Linked DNA regions of Homo sapiens: regions 1, 2, 3 and 4 are each linked to region 5. The links are contacts of gene promoters, found by promoter capture Hi-C in blood cells and fetal thymus (Javierre and others, 2016). All regions are on one chromosome and are shown on one strand. Each heading gives the region's core, a stretch centred on a gene start or on the middle of the fragment in contact. The rest is flanking DNA. Distances are from core to core; before and after follow the strand shown. Region 1 has its middle 23 kb from the start of BHMT. Region 2 holds the start of JMY (junction mediating and regulatory protein, p53 cofactor). Region 3 overlaps HOMER1 (homer scaffold protein 1). Region 4 holds the start of MSH3 (mutS homolog 3). Region 5 holds the start of THBS4-AS1 (THBS4 antisense RNA 1).

Region 1 (3,905 bases), core at 1,273-3,772, 950 kb after region 5:
GTGCCTCTGACAACCAGGATCCATGTGGGACCTGCTCCAGACCTGGGGCATCTGCCTGAATGGCCATGGGAAGTGGCTTGGGGCCTGAGGTACAGGGTCCGGGCCACGGACCGCTGGCTTGGGTCTACAGGCCAGGCTGATATCATGTGCCTGAATGCTGGGGAGTAGTCCAGGCTGGAGAGAGAAATCTGGGAGTCATCAAGCTGCTGAGAATGGCCTGATGGAAGGAAAAAAATCCTGAGGTGTCTAGCTCCCAAATTCCACTCTCCTATTCTCAAAATGTGAGAAGCCAGCTCTCTCCCTTCCTAGGTAGATGAAGGACTCTAAACCAAAAATTACTCACTTGATGATTTTTAGAATATTTAGCTTATGCAAATCTACAAAGAATTCTGAACCTTGAAAATAGAAACAGTTCATAATATGAAAAACCACAGACCCAAGTCTCCTTAGAAAACAGTACCTGTGGGGAGGAATGACATTTTCATTTTTCAGCACCAGGCTGAGTCTAGGGTAGTAACATTTTCCCTGCCCTCTGAACAGTGTTACTTGTTTTAGTCGGCTGTCTGTTTAGCCAGGGGAATAATTAATTAACAATTTCAGTCCGCTGGAAACATACCACCAAGTGGCATTCAGTAAATATTTATTGACAATGATGAGGCTATTATTTATTTATATCATCAAATCGCAAACAACTGTGGAGTTTTCCAGCAAGGCATTAGAAACTTGTTATCCTACAGTTGAGAAAATTGAAGGACAGAGAAGTGGGGTGATTTACCCAATGTTCTGCAGGGAGTTGGGGCAAAGCTAGGACTTGCACCCCAAAGTCTTGATTCTAAATGTCTTCCTTGCTTTTTCTGCTATGTGCCACTAGTGTTTTTGAGCCATAGGTGAATTCCACTAAGCTACCTCAGGTGTTTAGGACGTTAACTTTTGCAAAGAACAGTAAAATCTCATTAAGTCAGAATAATTGGAAGAATGACCAGGCTGACTTGAGAAAAAGTCTGAACTATTTAAAAAGATATTCAGCTTTTTCCTTTCAAGATCATGTAGTAAATTGGAACAAATAACCACAGAATGGGGCCAAGCAGAGGTCTTACTGAACCTGCCCAAAAGAACAAACTGGAATAATTTCTGAAGGGTACATTAACAGTTTGCATGCAAGTGATGACTGCTAAAGATAGTTCAGGCATTTAGAGAAATATCTTTTTATTAAAAATAAGTGAAATGTTTCCCTTAATACATTTCATGTAAGTATTTACATAGGAAACTTTCATAAATTTATTTATTTTTATTTTTATTTATTTATTTTTTTGAGATGGAGTTTCACTCTTGTTGCCCAAGCTAGAGTGCAGTGGTGCGATCTCGGCTCACTGCAACCTCCGCCTCCCAAGTTCAAGTGATTCTCCTGCCTCAGCCTCCCAAGTAGCTGGGATTACAGGCGCCTGCCACTACGCCCAGCTAAGTTTTGCGTTTTTAGTAGAGATGGGGTTTCACCATGTTGGCAGGCTAGTCTTGAACTCCTGACCTCAAGTGATCTGCCTGCCTTGGCCTCCCAAACTGCTGGGATTATAGGCGTGAGCCACCGTGCCCAGCCTGGAAGCTTTAATAAATTTAAATGTAAACATCTAACCATCTAACCACAAGTTAAAATGATCATGCGTTTGATTTCATGGCATATAAATTAACCTGTTTTTACTGTTTTGCTGTACATGACTTGTTTGGTATTATTCCTGTAACTCACAGCAGCATAAATGATGACATCTGTCTCTCTCATTTTCCATCATCTTAATTTTTCATCTATCCAATGCCAACAGAATGCCTCCAGCTGCTTGAAAACCGGAAGCATTTTCTGGCCATTCCTTTCTCTCACCACACTCCCACCAATTTTACCAAAGGATCCTACCCTTCCTGTTACCATTTTTGAGAATTCTTTGCATTTGCCTGCCTTTCATCATTTTCTGTTCAAACACTAAATATTCCTTCCTGAAGATGTTTAGAAATATTATACCTTGCTATCTCTAATTCTGTCGTTTAACATCCCACCAGGCATACTATTTCTGAAGCCGTTCATAAGTCCTATTTTTCTCTCTTGAAATTGACTTCTTCCTCCTTTGTTATCTAAGAGCCAGGGTCCTTGACCTGGCAGGTAACACGTGGGAGGTTCCAGACTGACTGAGTGGATGTTATTGACTATCAAGGAGGCTATTTGGGAGAACAGTCTATAAAGCCCTCAAGCCCTTCAGTGTGCTGAAGGCTGGAAAAAAAAAAACGTTTCTGGGGAAAATGGGGATCTAGTTGGAGATGCATAAAGCCTGCCTGCCTGCCTGCTCTCCTGCAGTCCCTCCCCGCCCTCCTTCCTCCCTCCCTGCCTCTCTCCTCCCTCCCTCCCTCTCTCCTTTCTTTCCTTCCCTCCCGTTCTCCCTCCCTTTTTCCCTCCCTTTCTCCCTTCCTTCCTCTTTTTTAATTCCTGACTCAAACTTGTTAAAGGCTTTTCTTGATGGGTGCGTTGTCCTGGATGTGATTCAAAGATCCACATGTCTTAAGAAAAAACTGACCAAAACTGTTAGAGCTTAGCCTGATGAAATAACTTAAGTTCAAACAAAATAAGGTTACTCATGCATTTCCTGCTGGCGACCTGCTGCCCCCATCTGGAGAAGTTGGGAACGGATGTTCTTGATTCATTCCTGCGCAGTTCTTGTTTCCTTTAGGGGTCTGCGTTGGCTTGGCTGTCTTATCCAAAGGTGGTTTGCTACAGTGTGTAGAAGTGTCAGAGTACAAACTGCAAACAGTTTATTTAGTGAGTTCATGTTTACTCTGAGTAACGCCAAAGACCTTTATTTTATTCCTGGCTGGAGGATGACTCCTTAGTTTTGTGGACCATCTGTTCTGGTACTGCCCCCCAGCTTCCCCAACCCTTCCTACAAAAGGCTAAGCTAAAGCCGTCTTTCTTGACAGCCTTGGAATAGTGAGAAGTGCTTCCTGACTTTGCATCCTGCCTTGGTAATCTTATCCTTAAAAGGATAGTTTGGACTTTTGATCTCTAAGGTCCCTCTGGTTCGGAGTCCATAAAAAATATTTACCAGTGAGAAATGTCTATTTAACATAAATCAACTCTTAGGTATTAAATGAGCTTTCTCTCTTAATGAACAAGATTTCTGGAAATAAAATGCACATGTTTGGAGGAGGGACTGAAATTTTAAAAACAATTTCAAAATATGAACTATACCACTAGGAGGCAGTGTTGACATATAATTTAATTCAAGAATGTCTTTACCATAGCTCCTTTTCAGAAAAATATTTTAAAAAACGATGGATATAAAAATGATTAAAGGTTATAATATTTTGGTGGCAACAAAACTCTGAAAAGAATATTAAAGGAACATGCATTTTACACAGTAATAGAACAGCAAGTCCAATAAAATGTCATCTGTGAGTGAAAGCTTTAAATACTGAGCTTGGTTTGAGAATATAAGAGAAATGATAGATAACAACTTTGCCAAAAAAAAAAACAAAAAACAAAAAACAAGTGGAGTTCACTCTTGTTTCCACTAGCCATATGCAGCCTCTGAAAGTTGTGCTGCTTTGGCTCTGTTTCTGTGCATTGAGGGATTAGGGGTGGATTATTAACTCTTAGTAACAAAATTCTAGCAATTTCTTTGCCTTTCCATTTATTTATTTATTTGACAGAGTCTCACTCTGTCTCCCAGGCTGGAGTGCAGTGGTGCAATCTCAGCTCACTGCAGCCTCTGCCTCCCAGGTTCAAGTGATTCTCATGCCTCAGCCTCCCGAATAGCTGGGACTACAGGTGTGTGCCACCACACCTGGCTAATTTTTGTATTTTTAGTAGAGACAGGGTTTCACCATGTTGGCCAAACTGGTCTTGAACTCCTATCCTCAAGTAATCC
Region 2 (4,023 bases), core at 1,256-3,755, 850 kb after region 5:
GCGGGGGTGCATTTCTCCACCAATCTCAATTGCATTAATAGTAAAAACAGTAACTTGCTTTGAGAAACTACGTGTAGTAGTATCCATTAGGGAAAACTGGGTCTATTTTAAAAGACTTTTTTAGTAAAGTTCCTTCAGCAGAAGCTAGTGAGCAGGCATGAATTACACATTTCCTACACATTCTAGAGCCCCATATGTATATCCATTCAGACCCTTTCTTCCACTTTTTTTTTGTTATTTTAAGGATTAGTTTGAAAAGGCTTTTGTACTTCTACAGTAAGTACAAAAATACAACGAACATTCCTGCCCAGAATCTTTATTTCTACCTAAAACAGCAGTGAAACCTGAGCCATCTGTAAAGACCTGAGGTAGTCCAAAAAAAAAGAAACAAAACACTTCTAAAAAACCTTTTAAAAATAAATTTGCATCCGATAGTCACTAGGTGCTTTTTCACTTAGGTCACTCGTTTAAAAATGAATTTAAAATTTGCGTAGGTTGCCACACTGCACAAAGAAGAATCAAAACAGATCAACTTTGCTCCGTAAGACAAACTATTTTAAATAAAGGTGACAAGGACAAAGAAGAGTTGACATCTGGGCAGTTATTGCTGGAAGAGCTTTAGGGGTAGAAAAATGCTCAGGTAGCCCATGCTTACAGAACACTTTTCTTAGTGGCTTTAATTGCGCATTACCAGTACTGAGTAGTACACAGAGCGCACTTACTACTTTTGATAAATGGGGGAGGAAATAAAGACGAAGGTCCTTCAGAGAGTCAATTAAGCAGCCACCGAGAGGGATGAAGGGCAAGGTAGATCAGGAACCCCTCTTGGTTTCCGCTTGTCCAGAAAAACAACCGTCCTACTGCGCACACCCGACACCGAGGCTCCAGCCTTTGGTTTGGCCAGTAAACCAAAAGCGACCAGTAGAGCCCAGACTAGGAGCTCACTCACTCACCTCCTGGATGCGCTTCCTGGCCCGCTGAAGCACTTCTTCGTAGCCCTTCTGCCGCAGCTCGCTGAGGCTTTCGTAATACTCCTCGGGATCATCGGTCTCGGTGAAGAGCACCTGGGAGAGGATCTTCCAGCCGCAGGTGTCCAGGCCGTGGCCCAGGTAGACCTGGAGCTGGTAACACAGAGTGTCGATTTCCTGCTCGGTCATCTCGGGGGCGCCCCCAAACAGCACAGTCCACATGCCCGAAGGTTCCTCGGGGAACACCGGCAGGCACGGCTCCAACTGCGAGTTCACCGAGCACAGCTGCTGGTGCACGGCGCGCAGGTCCTGGAAAGAAAACAGTCCGGCCCAGCTGCACTCTTCGGCCGGAGACTCCAGCTCGGTGGCGGGCGGCGGCTGCTCCGCGTCCGAGAGCGCCAGAGGTGCCTCGTCCTCCTTCACCATTTCCAGCACCTCTATCTCCTCGGAGACCGTCCCAGAGGCGCTCACTATCCGTACAGAGGACACCTGGGCCTCTCTGGGCGCCGGCCGGGCTGCTGCAGCGGCTGCCCCCGCCGCATCGTCGGCTTCAGATGTTTTCTGACCCGGGATGGGTTTGGCCCGCACTGGGCTCCTAAGACGACTCTCCGCCCCTTTGCTGCCAGGACTCCGCAGCCGCGGGTCCCCCAGAAGGCTGCGAGTGCTCCGAGGAGAGCCGCCCTCCGCCCAGGCCGAGCTCCGCCGGGGCCCGGGGCTCCTAACCAGAGTTGCAGAGGCAGTGGCCTCGGGCCGACCCCTGCCCGCCGGGCTGCCGGGCCCGCGGCTCCCGTCGGACGCAGCTCCGCCGGCCTCGGCGCCCCCTCGCGCCCCCGCTTGCTCCCGGGAGCCGCTCCTCTGCCTCTGGGCCGTCCGGTTGTGGCAGGTTATGGCAAACTTGCCCTCAATCTCGTTCCAGGCCACAATAAAGACGAATTTGTGTTTCTCGCGCTCGTCGAACACATGGGGCCGCACAGCCACCCAGTCCGACTCGAGCGTCTCCTCCAGCGCGAACGACATGGTGGCTCCGGCTTCTCGCCGCGGGGAAGGGCCGCCGGCCCGGCCCGCCCGAGGACTCCCCGCTGGCTGCGCCGCGCCCCCCGCTCACCCTCGCCGGGCGCCTTCAGCCATCTTAGTGCGCCGGCCGGCTCTCCCGGCTCGTTCGCCTGTCCCTCCGCGCCCCGACCGCCGAGCTCCTTTGTGGCGCGGATCGAGAGAAGGACAATAAGCGTCCCGGGAGCAGGTAGTTCACATGGTCACCTGCGGCCGGATCTGTTTACAAGCTCCGCGCTGCCGCAGCGCCTCGCGGCCGCCCGCCGCCCCCCGCGCGAGGCCGTGGAGCTGCGTCTGCGGCGCTCCGGTGGTGAGGCGCGGGTCCCGCGGGGTCAGGCCGGCGCTGTATGCGTCCCGGTCGCTCGCCCAGGTCAAGATCCCCGCCCCCGCCCCTGGTGCTGCTGCAGAAAGCCCGGAGCCGGCCTGACTGATGAACCCGTCTCCTAAACTCTGCGCCTCAGCATCGCCACAATGTTGCCATTCGACTGCTGACGTCGGCGGCTCCACGAGGGACGTAAACATGGGCACGTGCCGCACGCTGGTGACGCGGCGGCGGCGGCGCGCGCACCCCGCCCGCGCGCGCCGGCGCCTCCTCTCGGCGTCCCCTGAGCCAGCCCGCGAGCGGCCGCGCTCCCGACTCTCCTTCCTTCCGCGCAGCCTCCAGTTCCCCGGGGCTGGAGCCGGCTGTCGGCTGGTTGCCGGCTCCGAGGGCGATGAGAGTGGCAGGTGTGCCCTGCTGCACAGGTGGCCTCCGAACCCGGGAAAAGAGGAACTAAGGCGGAGGAACTGAGACGTTTCGAATTCCAGGTATTGAGACCCTCGAATGTACATTTGCCTCCATTCTCCTGGAGGGAGCCCGGACGGAGAGTCGCTCCTGCGTTCAGAAGTAGCGTGTTGCCGCGGGGAACGGTGTGCTGAACTATGTGGGGCTCGCCCCCAGCCTGTTAGGTTCTCCCCTAATGCCCTTGAGACCAAAACAAAAAACAAAAACAATTCCAGAAGCTTTTCTGGAAAGACAGAGTTTAATATATGAAAGGAAGGTGTCTGAGGAAAGCCCAGTAACAGTCCAAAACAAAATGAAAAATGAAAATGCCATGTCCTAACAGCATGAATGTTTACATTTCAGTTCATTGGTGTTTTATTGCTTCAGGTTTCATCATTATGTACTGTTCTGTGAACCTCGTTTTGAGGTCACTGGGCTTTAGCCCTTTTGAAGTTGTATTCAATTATGGGAGTTCCCAGAATGCATATACAAAAACAGTCATATCAATCTCTGCTATTCTTACTAAACTATGATGAAACACATTCTTAAAATTAGTAGACTTTATAATAATTATTGGCATTCTTTTTCCGATTAGTATTCAAGTCACAGATGTTGTGCACCATAGTAAAGCACAATGGAAATTAGTTCTTTTACATTTATTCACATTTCTAAAGTATATACAAAACCGTTTGGATTAGCCTTGTATTGTTAGGTTCAGTAAAAACAGCTGTTTATTCAGATGACAGAACAGTACTGAACTAGCTAAGCTTCAAACTTAGTTCAGTATTGTCCATCTTAAACTCTAAGCTTCAACACTTGGTTCAGTATTGTCCTGATATTTGAATAAACAGCCAAAAAAAATTTTTTTTTTGAGACAGAGTCTCACTCTGTGGCCCAGGCTGGAGCACAGTGGCACGATGTCAGCTTACTGCAGCCTCTGCCTCCCGGGTTCAAGCGATTCTCCTGCCTCAGCCTCCCAAGTAGCTGGGATTACAGGCACACACCACCAAGCCCGACTAATTTTTGTATTTTTATTAGAGACGGGGTTTCTTCATGTTGGCCAAGCTGGTCTCGAACTTCTGGCCTCAGGTGATCCGACCGCCTTGGCCTCTCAAAGTGCTGGGATTACAGTCGTGAGCCACTGAGCCCAGCTGGTTTTTAACATTTTGTACAGTTCATTATTTGAAACCACAAATTTTCAAAGTTTGTAACTGAGTTTGTGTCAAATCTCAAATGCAAGTC
Region 3 (3,877 bases), core at 502-3,001, 570 kb after region 5:
CCTGCCTGAGGTTTCTTTGTACAAATAGCACAGGAGGACCCCAGCCCCACAGCCCCATGCAGATGGCAGCCTGGCGGGGGGTCGCACCAGTCCTGTCCTCACGTTGGCAGATAGAGATATCTACTCTGAAGCCTCTGTAGGGGCCTGGGCACCTTTGGGAGCCTGAGCTGGAACTGAAGCTGGAGCTGCAGCCTGGGCCTTGGTTTGATCCTTGTCCTTGGCCTTTGGCCAGCACACCCTGAGCCCCTTGGCAATGCGGGCACGAGCATGCTTCCCAAGCTTGGGGTGGACAGTGTAGGCAAGTTGAGCTTGCGGCTGACACCCTTTGGGATCTTGGGCTTAACCTCCTTGGGCTTTAGGAGGGCCTTGATAGCCTTGGCATGTGCACTCATGGCCTTGGCACTGTTAGCCTGCATCTTCTTTAGGCCCTTCTTGTTGTGTTTCTTGGCAAACTGCATGTTCCTCAGGAACTTGGGGTCCACCCCCTTAAGAGATTCGTATCTTTGTGCTTCGGGTTTCTTGATACCATTTCTGTGCCATTTTTGGGACTGGTTGTGTGTGGTGTGGTTCTTGGACTTGGCCATGTCTGCACCTTAAGGCGCGGCTCCTGAAGCGCCTAGAATCTGAAGAGACAGGATGAATTTAATACTAAGGGGGCTGTTGTTTAAAGTGGGAAAGTTAGCACCACACATAACATGCATTTAGACACTTAGCATAATTAATTTGTTTATAAATGAATGTATCTGCCCTTTAGTTAATAAAGTTCTATATATGGACTGAGGAGAAAAAGGAGCGAGCATTTTGTGGTGCTATTTTTTTTTTTTTGGAAAGCCTGTATTTGGGGCTATGACCCTTTCTCATTGATAGTGACTTGAGTAGAGAGAGGAAGGGTAGATGGAAGTAGAAGAGCATACAGCAAAGGCATTTGCTGACGTTTCCACACTTTATGCGTATTTATGCCTAATAAATGTTTGTGGAATTAGCATAGCTGCCTGGACCTATTTCAAGCAAAAGGAAACAGGGCTTTAAATGGCTTTTAAAGCTTTACCTTGGCAATCCATAATTACCTTACTGTAATAGATATCTAAAATTTAATACTGTGGGTAAAGTGTTTCACATATTACAACCTTCTTTTTTTAAACTAATGTTAGGTTATAATAAGGATTTATCTTCGTCTTAATTGTAGATAATTATTGCAAGTCTAGGGGCAGTCTAAGCAAAGGAATTATTTTTAATAAAATCAGTGATTGGGCAGAAAAAAATTATGGCTCCCCTAATAGTAGTTTATGAACTTTTTGGAAATGGAGAAGAACAGCTGAAACTTGACAGTTGGCAAAGTCTGTCAAAGTATCTTGGATGTTGCATGAACTGTTAATTGCAGTGAAGGCAACTAAAGTATGGGTTTGTAAAATAGGTGTATCAGATCCCCTAAAAATTAAGGCATTCATGTATGTAAAATGAAGTCTCTGAAAAGTTTTGAAGCCTCAGTGAGGAGCCCCTGTTAGGTATGACCCCCACCCCCACCTCCAAATAGTATCTCATAATGACAGCAGTGAGTCAGTAGCTATTTCAGAACTATCACAGTAGGCAACAGAAATCAAGTAACTTCAACCACTTATTTCATGAAACCCTTTGTTTTTACTTAGCTCATTTTGGCAACCTAGTGCCATCAGCAATGGTAAAGAATTCTTTCCCTCCCTTCCCTTATTAAGAGCTACTTATACATAAAATGGGGCTCTCCCTGCTAATGGAATCTGTTAATGCTGTTTCTGATTTATCTCACCTGCCTATGGGAACTTCTGGAGTCCTTCCTTCCCCTCTTTCCCCAAATAACTTCCAGAAGCATGGAAATGAGTGCTGCTACATTGCAGCCCAAACTGAGTCTCTTTGCTGAAAGATGGGAAGCTGACACCTCCTTCTGCCTCAAACTGCAGGGTTCTGCTCTCTAGGGGTTGTAGCAAAAATGTGAAAATCTTGATCCAGCACTATAAATGGGTTTTATTGCAAAGATAACCACCCTATCATATCTGACAATAGACAACTTAGATGCAAGTCCTTAATTCGTCATTTGTTCATTTTACCAACTTTGAACCTTTGTTATAGTGCGTGTACTTACCTCAGTGCTGCTGATAGGAAGGCCAATACAATGTGCTCCTTCCCTTAGTGAGTTTATACTTTGGAAGTTGGGCAGACAGTCAAGCCTAAAATTAAAATGTGCAATGAAATTTTGTAGGAGCTATAATGTAGGGCATTATGGAGACACAAAGTGTGTGTTGGGGGGGCATTAGCTGCTGAGGGAAGGATAAAAAGGCTTTGTAGAGGAGGTGATAGTTGTTAAATACTGAAAGATGAGTACAAGTGAGCCTCTTAGACAAATAAGAGGGCATTCAAGGCAGAGAGAACAGTGATTGACACCACTAAAACGAGGAACTGCAAAGGAGTTTGGCATGACAAGCTTGTTTGCTTGAGCTAGCTCCCTTTGGTGTAGCAAGAGATAGGTCTAGAGCCTTATTATGCAGGGACTGGGTTGGAGAACCATGTAGATCAAATGAAAGATTGGATTATCCTGTAGTTTAGTGTGTTTAGAGGTTTTTTTGGCTATGACCCGTTGGAAAGATAAGCATCTTTACATTGCAACCCAATATGCTTGTATATAAATGATAAAATGTCACTACATAATACCCTTGCTTTGTATGGTACACTCTGGTAGTTTCTATTCTGTTCCGTTCTATTTTATTTTTAAGATAGACTGATGATGGTGACCCACTCAATTTATTTAATGACGCTGTGTTAGCAACTGGTAATTTGAAAAGCACTTCTCTTCTGTGTGAAGATTACTAAAGGGTTTTAAGCAGAGTAAGAACATGATCAGGGAAGTAGAATAAGAAAGCAATTTTAAAAATCATTTACAATTTGGTTTTGTGTCTTGTATCCTGTGGAAACACCAAGCCAGAACAATGAACTCTGGCTGGGTAGAGGAAGTGGACAGTTGGGCAGGCCCTGGAAGGTTCCGAAGTGGGGAGGGGAGGGATGGTGACTGAGAGATGTGTAGTTGGCTGAACGGGGCTTTTTCAGAATTAGGACATTTCATTGGAGAGGTAAGAATGTAGCAAAGAGCATGGTATGTTCTTAGCAGAGTCACTAACTATGGGTCATAAAATAGTGAATTTGGGAGTTAAGGGGTTGACAGAAGAAACTGTCCTTATTCATAGTTTATAGTTTTGAGTGATTAAACATCTCAGAAGAAAAGGTGGTTATATCCCAAAAGGTCTAACCTCTCTACTGCCATGTGATTTTTTTTTTTTTCAGTCTTTAGTGTTTAGTTGAAGTATTTATTTTTAGTTACTGGATTGTTATTTCAGATTAATATGACTAACTGGACAGAAGAGTAGGGAAAATGAGTGCCGAGTGCTTAATGTTTTCTGATATAATTTTTTTCTGATGTAGTTTTTAAATGACTATAAAACATTTTACATAGATTTATATCTCAGGTCGTATCTCGTGGAATGAAATGTGCAGTTTTTTTGTGTTGCATATTTGTAATGCCTTATGACCCGTGGCTAATATTTCTGTTTGTTTTTGAAAAGTTGAGTGATTTTGAGGCATTGCAAAGTTTCAGGTCTGTTAAATATGTTCATTTCAAAAGAATCTACATGTGATAAGGAATATTTATTTAGATTTTAGCCCATCTACCATCTAGAAGAATTGAGATAAAATTTTCACATCTATCTTACTGAATGAGTATTGCAAGAGTAGGTAAAACTGTTTTTTTTTTGTTTTGGTTTTTTTTTTTTTTTTTTTTTTTGAGATAGAGCCTCACTCTGTCACCCAGGCTGGAGTGCAGTGGCGCGATCTTGGCTCACTGCAACCTCCGCCT
Region 4 (4,240 bases), core at 225-2,724, 570 kb before region 5:
TCTAATTATAAAACTTGAATCACCCTACTTACATATGCTAAATAAAATACCTCTAAGAAATAAACAGTTATGTAGCAAAGGCACAGAGGGGAAAAGATAGGTAATAAAAGAACAGTATCATTTTTGACATGTTCACTGCAATTTAAGTGTTTCCTGTTTAAAAGGTTTATGTTCATCACTAAAGATGTGACAAGATTATGAATTTTTTCTTGGCAGAAAACTTGCCAAAAGCATACATAAGTCCTTCACCAGCTACCCTTTAAATGGTGGGTGCAAAATTTTGGTGAATTCATGAAAACGTAGCTCGTCCTCAAAAAAAACAGAAGAGGAGTAATCATTTTAAGGGAGAAATATATACGAAAGGAACAAGATTTTGAAGCACCCAAGCTGCCACCTACATTAAAACACGGTAGGTGGCTAAACACCAGTCTTCAATGCCCTTCCACAGCCTCAATCTGAAAAATACTGTGCAGGTGACCCAAGTGAGGGGTCACCCTTGGGCTTTTCCTGTGGCAGTATCTCTGGTTTAAAAACAAACAAACGTACTTATTGCGTTGAAGGATGGCAACAGGAAGGACTCCATGATTAGTCACATCTATACCATCCTAAGAAACTTTATCCACCCAAACTGTATTTCAGACTTTATAATCTAAACTACAAAAAGAGTTCACTGGGGAACTGCACAATATGACTGCTTTTAACCGTAGTGATTTCAAATATTGAGCCATGCTGTTGCAGTCTTAAAAACTGGAGACCTAAGGGCAGCTTTCTTCTAGTCACCCAATCCAGCACTTTTTTAAAAAATCAGTAAAACTCTTCGACCACCAAGGAAAAAAAAAAAGGATGGAGGTTAAAAGACGCACCCCTTGCCCACAAGCCCCCTCATCAGAATGGGAGTCAGGAGACCTGAGTTCCTGTCTCAGGCCTGCCATTAAAAACCTGCATAACCTTTGCCTATCTCCTCAAACGGAAGTACTAAAACCTCAGCGCTTCACCCAATTTGTAGCCCCGGCTGGGCTCTTCCCACCTTCCCCTTCTTCAGCCCGCCCCTTCCTCCTCCAGCCCTATCATCGGGCGGAGGGTCCCCGCCTCCGCCCGCCTTACCCACAAGCCCCGCCCCCCCAGCCCCGATGGCCCTGCCCAGTCCCAGACAGAACCTACTATGTGCGGCGGCAGCTGGGGCGGGAAGGCGGGAGCTGGGGGCGCTGGGGGCGCTGCGGCCGCTGCGGCCGCTGCAGCCGCTGCAGCGCCAGGGTCCACCTGGTCGGCTGCACCTGTGGAGGAGGAGGTGGATTTCAGGCTTCCCGTAGACTGGAAGAATCGGCTCAAAACCGCTTGCCTCGCAGGGGCTGAGCTGGAGGCAGCGAGGCCGCCCGACGCAGGCTTCCGGCGAGACATGGCAGGGCAAGGATGGCAGCCCGGCGGCAGGGCCTGGCGAGGAGCGCGAGCCCGCGGCCGCAGTTCCCAGGCGTCTGCGGGCGCGAGCACGCCGCGACCCTGCGTGCGCCGGGGCGGGGGGGCGGGGCCTCGCCTGCACAAATGGGGACGAGGGGGGCGGGGCGGCCACAATTTCGCGCCAAACTTGACCGCGCGTTCTGCTGTAACGAGCGGGCTCGGAGGTCCTCCCGCTGCTGTCATGGTTGGTTCGCTAAACTGCATCGTCGCTGTGTCCCAGAACATGGGCATCGGCAAGAACGGGGACCTGCCCTGGCCACCGCTCAGGTATCTGCCGGGCCGGGGCGATGGGACCCAAACGGGCGCAGGCTGCCCACGGTCGGGGTGGCCGACTCCCGGCGAGAGGATGGGGCCAGACTTGCGGTCTGCGCTGGCAGGAAGGGTGGGCCCGACTGGATTCCCCTTTTCTGCTGCGCGGGAGGCCCAGTTGCTGATTTCTGCCCGGATTCTGCTGCCCGGTGAGGTCTTTGCCCTGCGGCGCCCTCGCCCAGGGCAAAGTCCCAGCCCTGGAGAAAACACCTCACCCCTACCCACAGCGCTCCGTTTGTCAGGTGCCTTAGAGCTCGAGCCCAAGGGATAATGTTTCGAGTAACGCTGTTTCTCTAACTTGTAGGAATGAATTCAGATATTTCCAGAGAATGACCACAACCTCTTCAGTAGAAGGTAATGTGGGATTAAGTAGGGTCTTGCTTGATGAAGTTTACCAGTGCAAATGTTAGTTAAATGGAAAGTTTTCCGTGTTAATCTGGGACCTTTTCTCTTATTATGGATCTGTATGATCTGTATGCAGTTCCCAAGGTTCATTTACCATTATTAAAAAATTTTTGTCTTAGAAATTTTATGTATGTCAACGCACGAGCAAATTATCAGGCATGGGGCAGAATTGGCAGCTGGGTGGAGGCTTCGGTGGAGGTGAGCACTCCGAAAGGAAAACAGAGTAGGCCTTTGGAACAGCTGCTGGAAGAGATAAGGCCTGAACAAGGGCAGTGGAGAAGAGAGGGTAAAAATTTTTTAAGGTTACATGACCCTGGATTTTGGAGATCTCGAATTTAAAGGTGATGCACCAGGGATGAACGCTCAGATTTTCAGTTTGAAAGCTGGCGTGACATGTAAAGGAGTGGAGAATAATGTACCATTGTAATGATGAGGCGCCTCTAGGACATCTAGGATAATTTCAGGCGTGGGGATCTAGGTGAATTGAACTGTTGGAGGGAAGGGAATAACCAAGGAAAAGAATGTGGGGGTTGAGAGATGCCCCGTTTAAAACCTAAGAGACCTGGATATTTATGGTTGTAAGAGGAGGCATGGCAGAGGAAATGGAAACAGTAAGAAAGGAGCAGATGCTGCATCTCTTTAATGGGACAGATACAAGGCATTTGGGTTTGACACTTAGGTCACTGGTAGAGATGATGACAAGAGCCCGTAGCTAAAGAATTGATAAAAGCCAGTCTCAAAAATCCCAATATAGTCTGGTAATGTTAATGTTTCTTTGGTTCAGATAGCTGACTCTCAAAGTTATTTTCCTAAGAAACTGAACCAAAAGTGGACGCTATATGTAAAAAGTTTTTATAGAAGTGTTATAAGAGTAGGATAGAGACATAATTAAACATGTTTTAAGGTAATTGAGTGGAACATTAAGCACCTATTTTTAAAAGTATGATTTAATATCAATCTACAAAGTACACAAATATAATACAATTGTATCAGACAGTTGTGACAGCACTGATTAGAGGCTGAACATTATTCTAAGTCTTTAATTCCCACAACAACCCTAGAAGCAGGAACTATTGTTATCTCTATTTTATAGATAAAGTAAACCACAAGGGGTTAACACGTTTTGTCTTGTGGGTGACAAAATGCATTCAACTTGAGCACTTTGACTCAGAATCTTTTTTTTTTTTTTTTTTAAGAGGGAGTCTTGCTCTGTCGCCCAGGCTGGAGTGCAGTGGCGCGATCTCCGCTCACTGCAAGCTCCGCCTCCCGGGTTCACACCATTCTTCTGCCTCAGCCTCCTGAGTAGCTGGGACTACAGACGCCTGCCACCACACCTGGCTAATTTTTTGTATTTTTAGTAGAGACGGGGTTTCACCGTGTTAGCCAGGATGGTCTCGATCTCCTGACCTCGTGATCTGCCCATCTTGGCCTCCCCAGAATCTTTACTATGTCATACACAATTGCAAATGATTAAAACTAAATATTGGATATAAATTGGATAATGCCAAAGGGAAAAATAGTTAGATTTAGGTAATGAGTGATAAGTATGAATTTTGGTAAGACTTTTAAGTTCAGTTTTTTAAAGGAGATCTCTGCCAAACCCCAAAAACAAAGAGCCCTAACATCAGCCTAACCAGATTTCAAATTTCATCTTTTGGCGGTATGCATTTTTAACAGTCACCCCTCAACTAACACATCATCCTCCCTCAACTCACATTCTACTAACCCCATCAATGCAACTCCCTGCCCACCTTACTCAACATATACACCGCTGCTAGCCCCATACCCCGAACCAACCAAACCCCAAAGACACCCCATACGGTTTATGTAGCTTACTTCCTCAAAGCAATACACTGAAAATGTTTCGACAGGCTCATACCACCCCATAAACAAATAGGTTTGGTCGTAGCCTATTAGCTCTTAGTAAGATTACACATGCAAGCATCCCTGCCCCGGTGAGTCACCCTCTAAATCACCACGATCAAAAGGAACAAGTATCAAGCACGCAGCAACGCAGCTCAAAACGCTTAGCCTAGCCACACCCCCACGGGAGACAGCAGTGATAAACCTT
Region 5 (3,668 bases), core at 816-3,315:
CAGCTCCTCAGTCTTCTCGATCTCCATGAAAAGTCAGGAGGTGAATGGGCATTGGAATGAATTCATACTAGTTGGTGAGAGACTGATGGCCACTCAGTCCTAGAGGTGTAAGATTCAAATGAGGCTCTTACTAACCTAATGGAACTGTAATAGGAATTTGAGTCATTGTGCTAAGGTTGAGTATAACAAGTATCCAAGAAGCCCAGGGAGTTACCTGGGGGAGAGCATACCACACCTGCTAGCTCATCCCGTCAGTCTGCAACTGGCTAGCTTCTCTCAAGTGCTTCCTGATTTTCACTTTTTTTTTTTTTTGTTTTTGTTTTTGGAGACACGTCTTGCTCTGTCGCCCAGGCTGGAGTGCAGTGGCACGATCTCAGCTCACTGCAACCTCCGCCTCCCGGGTTCAAGAGATTCTTGTGCTTCAGCCACCTGAGGAGCTGGGAGTATAGGCAGGAGCCACTGCACCTGGCCTAATTTTTGTATTTTTAGTAGAGATGGGGTTTTACCATGTTGGCCAGACTGGTCCCAAACTCCTGACCTCAAGCGATCCTCCCACCTAGGCCTCCCAAAGTGCTAGGATTACAGGTGTGAGCCATAGCACCCCACCCATTTTCACTTTTCTTACTTCATTTCTTATGCAAGAAATTTTCTGAAAGCCTCAAGTTTTCTACATCAGCTTCAAAAATATAAGGAGGGCCAACTAGGAATAGGACAAGGTAGAATAATCACTTGTGTGCTGATAAATATTTAACAACCAGTTCTCTGGAGCCCTGATTTGTAGTGTTTGCCAGTTTCTGTGTAAATACTCCCACCATGGCCAATTTCAAACTACCAACCGTTTAACTGGCTCACAATATTCCTAAAACTTGAATAGTTGGCTCTTATGAGCTGGTAGGAGTTGGCTTCAGCACACTGCTGGTTCTACATGCGTCTTTGTTTCTTGTTTTGCATAAATAACAAGTTTTGTCTTCCCAAAAATGTAATAAGCTCCCTAAGGGATGGAATTATGTTCTGGATCTCCTGTGGGCCCATGGTTTCTAAAATAGTTATAGACACAAAAGATTTAACCAAGAGAGTCTGTTTCCTGTGGACATACTGCGTTCTTGGGCTTGCACAGCCGACAACAGGGAGGCTGCCCCAGGGGTGGGCATGGTGTGGGTTGCTGCCTCCTTTCACCAGCCTCACTCTCATTGCCCAGGCTGGAGTACAGTGGTGCAATCTCTGCTCACTGCAGCCTCTGCCTCCCCAGCTCAAGTGATTCTCCCACTTCAACCTCCCAAATAGCTGGGACTATAGGCAAGTGGCACCACACCTGGCTAATTTTTGTATTTTTAGTAGAGATGGGTTTCGCCACGTTGGCCAGGCTGGTCTTGAACTCCTGGCCTCAAGTGATCTGCCTGCCTTGGCCTCCCAAAGTGCTTGGGACCACAGGCAAGTGCCACCACACCTGGCCCCATTGGAGTTTTTGATGTAGGAGATCAGATGTCCTGGATTACAAGGCCACACACATCTCCAGGCTGTACATGAGAGGAGGATGTCCAGAAATCCTCCAGATCTCATGCATGCACCATTGTATTTTCTCACTGTTAAAGTCATGATAAAACTGTGGTGTTTTTTTCTTCATACATGATTTAATATATCTCTAGGAATTCTGGAATAAGAAAATATATAACCGCACAGCAATATTCTTTGAAACAAAATTTCTAGAGAATTTATAAAAATTTGCTTGGATCTTGATTTACAATTGAAATACAAGAAAGGCTAGTGTACAAATTAGGCAAGTTTCTGTGCTGTACATCCAGCTACTGGTACCACAAATAGAGGATATGTTGTGACTTTTTGAGTTGAGGAGGACTTTTATGATCATGTACACTCTACTGTCCTTTAAGAGGCATTCATTCATTCATTCTTCGTTTATTAATTCAGTAAACATTTACTGGCTATTTACTACATTCCAGGTACTGTGGGGATATTGATTGTAATGACATGATCCTTTATTGTCAATATGCTTACAGTCCACTAGGGGGAGCCAAATATATAAATAAGCTTAAGAATTACGTTGAAGGGGCCAGAATAGAAGTCTGTGGAAGGTGTGGGATGGGATGACAGCATCAGAAAGAATTGGGCAAATCTGTCCCAGGACTAGGTCAGAAAAACGCCTCCCTAGGGAAGGTGCCACCCCAAACACGTGTTTCTGAGACCCCTTACCCGAAATAAGGAGGCTGCCAAGGTGAGCATGGAACGGTTAGGCGTTTTGTATGGAGCAAACTGGGGGGACCCCAGCTGAGACCTCTGGCCTGGGCCTTGTGATTCACGCATAGGCTCATCTTATCGGCCACCGGGTCTGAGAAGAAACTACCACCCTGCAAGTTAACAGGGATCCCTCCGAGAACGGGCACCTCAAAGCCTGAGCCACGTGAGAGCAATGTCTGAGCAACACGGTTTTTAAAAATGATCTCTTCTCCTTTATTGCCACATTCACATAAAACGTTTTGATATATTTGGGTTGGTAAAAGCTAAAGAAAATTGAAGTTAAAATATATATGGTTTTAGTGTTCCGAAAAGCAGTTACAGATTGCTTCCTTGGTTTAATTATCGAAGCGGTCGAAATTCTGGGTTTGAAACTCTTGGAAGTCCTCAGGGATGGTGTCTGCAATAGGAATGGGCACAGGGAGGTTAGCGAGGCTCCTTCCACCCCGGACCCCGGACCCCCGCCCGCGGCTCAGGCGTCCTGTAGGGGGCGCTGTTAGCCCGCCCAGGACGCCCCGCAGGCCCTCGCCGCCATTTTCTCCTGCAGGCTGCTTTGCAAACCGTTGGCTTAAAGCCCAGGAGTGCTCCTTCCCGGCCGTGCAGAAAATCAGCAGGCAGAATGGATTTTGCATCTGTGATTATGTTTTAACCACATGAAAATAAAGGCTTCCTGTAAATTAAATCTGACTGGATTTCTCACTGAACCCCAAACCCTAAACCATGCAGTTAAATTCTATGGGTCTTAATTTCCACATGGATAAAATAGGATAAATGTGATCTGCTTTTTACTTCTGGTACACAGGGACTATCAGGTTTTAATGACTATGTGGTATGAGCGTTGGGCTTTTGGGGGGGAAGTGCGGTATAAAAATAAGGTGGCAGTGTTTGACTAATTCTAGTAACAATGTTGAACAGTAACGAGAATGCACATTACCATTGCAGCGATACTTGAGGTTGGACCAGATGATGTTTTCTTGAGAGAAGCAGAAAACGCCAAGTCGGCCTCCACGCATTGTGGTGTCTATGGTGACGCCAGAGTCAGCCACCAACTCAGAGCCTTCATAAAATCGTACCCTGCGGACAACACGGCCGGAGGGGCCTCCATGAAATCCAACCCGGGGTAAAGTGCCCACTGTGAGGCCCAGGGGCCCCACTTCTTATACGTACCTGCGTCTTTCTTTGCTCTGTTTTAGGCTCCATTTTTCGCTGACCTGGATTGTACTGTAGCTGTTGCCACTTACTTACTAGACTGGAAGTCCTTGAGGGCAGGGACCGTGTGTGTCCGTGTGTGTGTGGAGGGGGGTGGGGGGTGTTTCTTCCCAACTTCTGTCTCTCACAAGGCCTAACATGATGTTGGTCACACTATCAAACTTGAGTTAAAAATCAAACCAAACCAAACCTGCTATCTTGAGTGAGAA

What was found. Contacts are between HindIII fragments. The CHiCAGO score rates a contact against its expected background, and 5 or more counts as called.
Region 1: a fragment that was not itself captured here is called in contact with the fragment with the promoter of THBS4-AS1 in region 5 in 2 of 17 cell types (erythroblasts and fetal thymus); the score reaches 8.3 in erythroblasts.
Region 2: the fragment with the promoter of JMY here is called in contact with the fragment with the promoter of THBS4-AS1 in region 5 in 1 of 17 cell types (fetal thymus); the score reaches 8.0 in fetal thymus.
Region 3: a fragment that was not itself captured here is called in contact with the fragment with the promoter of THBS4-AS1 in region 5 in 2 of 17 cell types (erythroblasts and megakaryocytes); the score reaches 5.3 in erythroblasts.
Region 4: the fragment with the promoter of MSH3 here is called in contact with the fragment with the promoter of THBS4-AS1 in region 5 in 1 of 17 cell types (neutrophils); the score reaches 6.2 in neutrophils.

What each region holds. Positions count from the first base shown.
Region 1 is chr5:79,132,552-79,136,456 of GRCh38, reverse strand. No RefSeq gene overlaps it. Among named protein-coding and RNA genes, the nearest start is that of BHMT, 23 kb to the right of the region's middle. The HindIII fragment of the contact is 1,840 bases long and covers 1,603-3,442 here.
Region 2 is chr5:79,234,613-79,238,635 of GRCh38, reverse strand. It overlaps JMY (junction mediating and regulatory protein, p53 cofactor), which reads right to left and starts at 2,505. Exons shown (of 11, transcript NM_152405.5): 1 at 954-2,505. The coding sequence starts at 1,985. LOC124901011 (a long non-coding RNA gene) reads left to right here and starts at 2,613. Exons shown (of 2, transcript XR_007058836.1): 1 at 2,613-2,825. RefSeq lists silencers at 976-1,270, 1,554-1,823, 1,994-2,433, 2,464-2,513, 2,554-2,603 and enhancers at 944-1,363, 1,415-2,051. The HindIII fragment of the contact is 5,598 bases long and covers 1-3,022 here.
Region 3 is chr5:79,507,141-79,511,017 of GRCh38, reverse strand. All of the region lies in intron 1 of HOMER1 (homer scaffold protein 1), which reads left to right. It also overlaps the pseudogene RPL29P15. Among named protein-coding and RNA genes, the nearest start is that of HOMER1, 5.1 kb to the left of the region's middle. The HindIII fragment of the contact is 1,413 bases long and covers 1,045-2,457 here.
Region 4 is chr5:80,651,886-80,656,125 of GRCh38, reverse strand. It overlaps MSH3 (mutS homolog 3), which reads right to left and starts at 1,474. Exons shown (of 24, transcript NM_002439.5): 1 at 1,162-1,474. The coding sequence starts at 1,398. It overlaps DHFR (dihydrofolate reductase), which reads left to right and starts at 1,143. Exons shown (of 6, transcript NM_000791.4): 1 at 1,143-1,722; 2 at 2,069-2,118. The coding sequence starts at 1,637. RefSeq lists an enhancer at 853-1,621 and silencers at 1,039-1,648, 3,882-4,176, 4,102-4,240. The HindIII fragment of the contact is 21,768 bases long and covers 1-4,240 here.
Region 5 is chr5:80,082,062-80,085,729 of GRCh38, reverse strand. It overlaps THBS4-AS1 (THBS4 antisense RNA 1), which reads left to right and starts at 2,065. Exons shown (of 8, transcript NR_109930.1): 1 at 2,065-2,230; 2 at 3,193-3,370. It overlaps THBS4 (thrombospondin 4), which reads right to left. Exons shown (of 22, transcript NM_003248.6): 21 at 3,185-3,324; 22 at 2,443-2,650. The coding sequence ends at 2,589. RefSeq lists silencers at 1,337-1,551, 2,667-2,756. The HindIII fragment of the contact is 5,954 bases long and covers 2,049-3,668 here.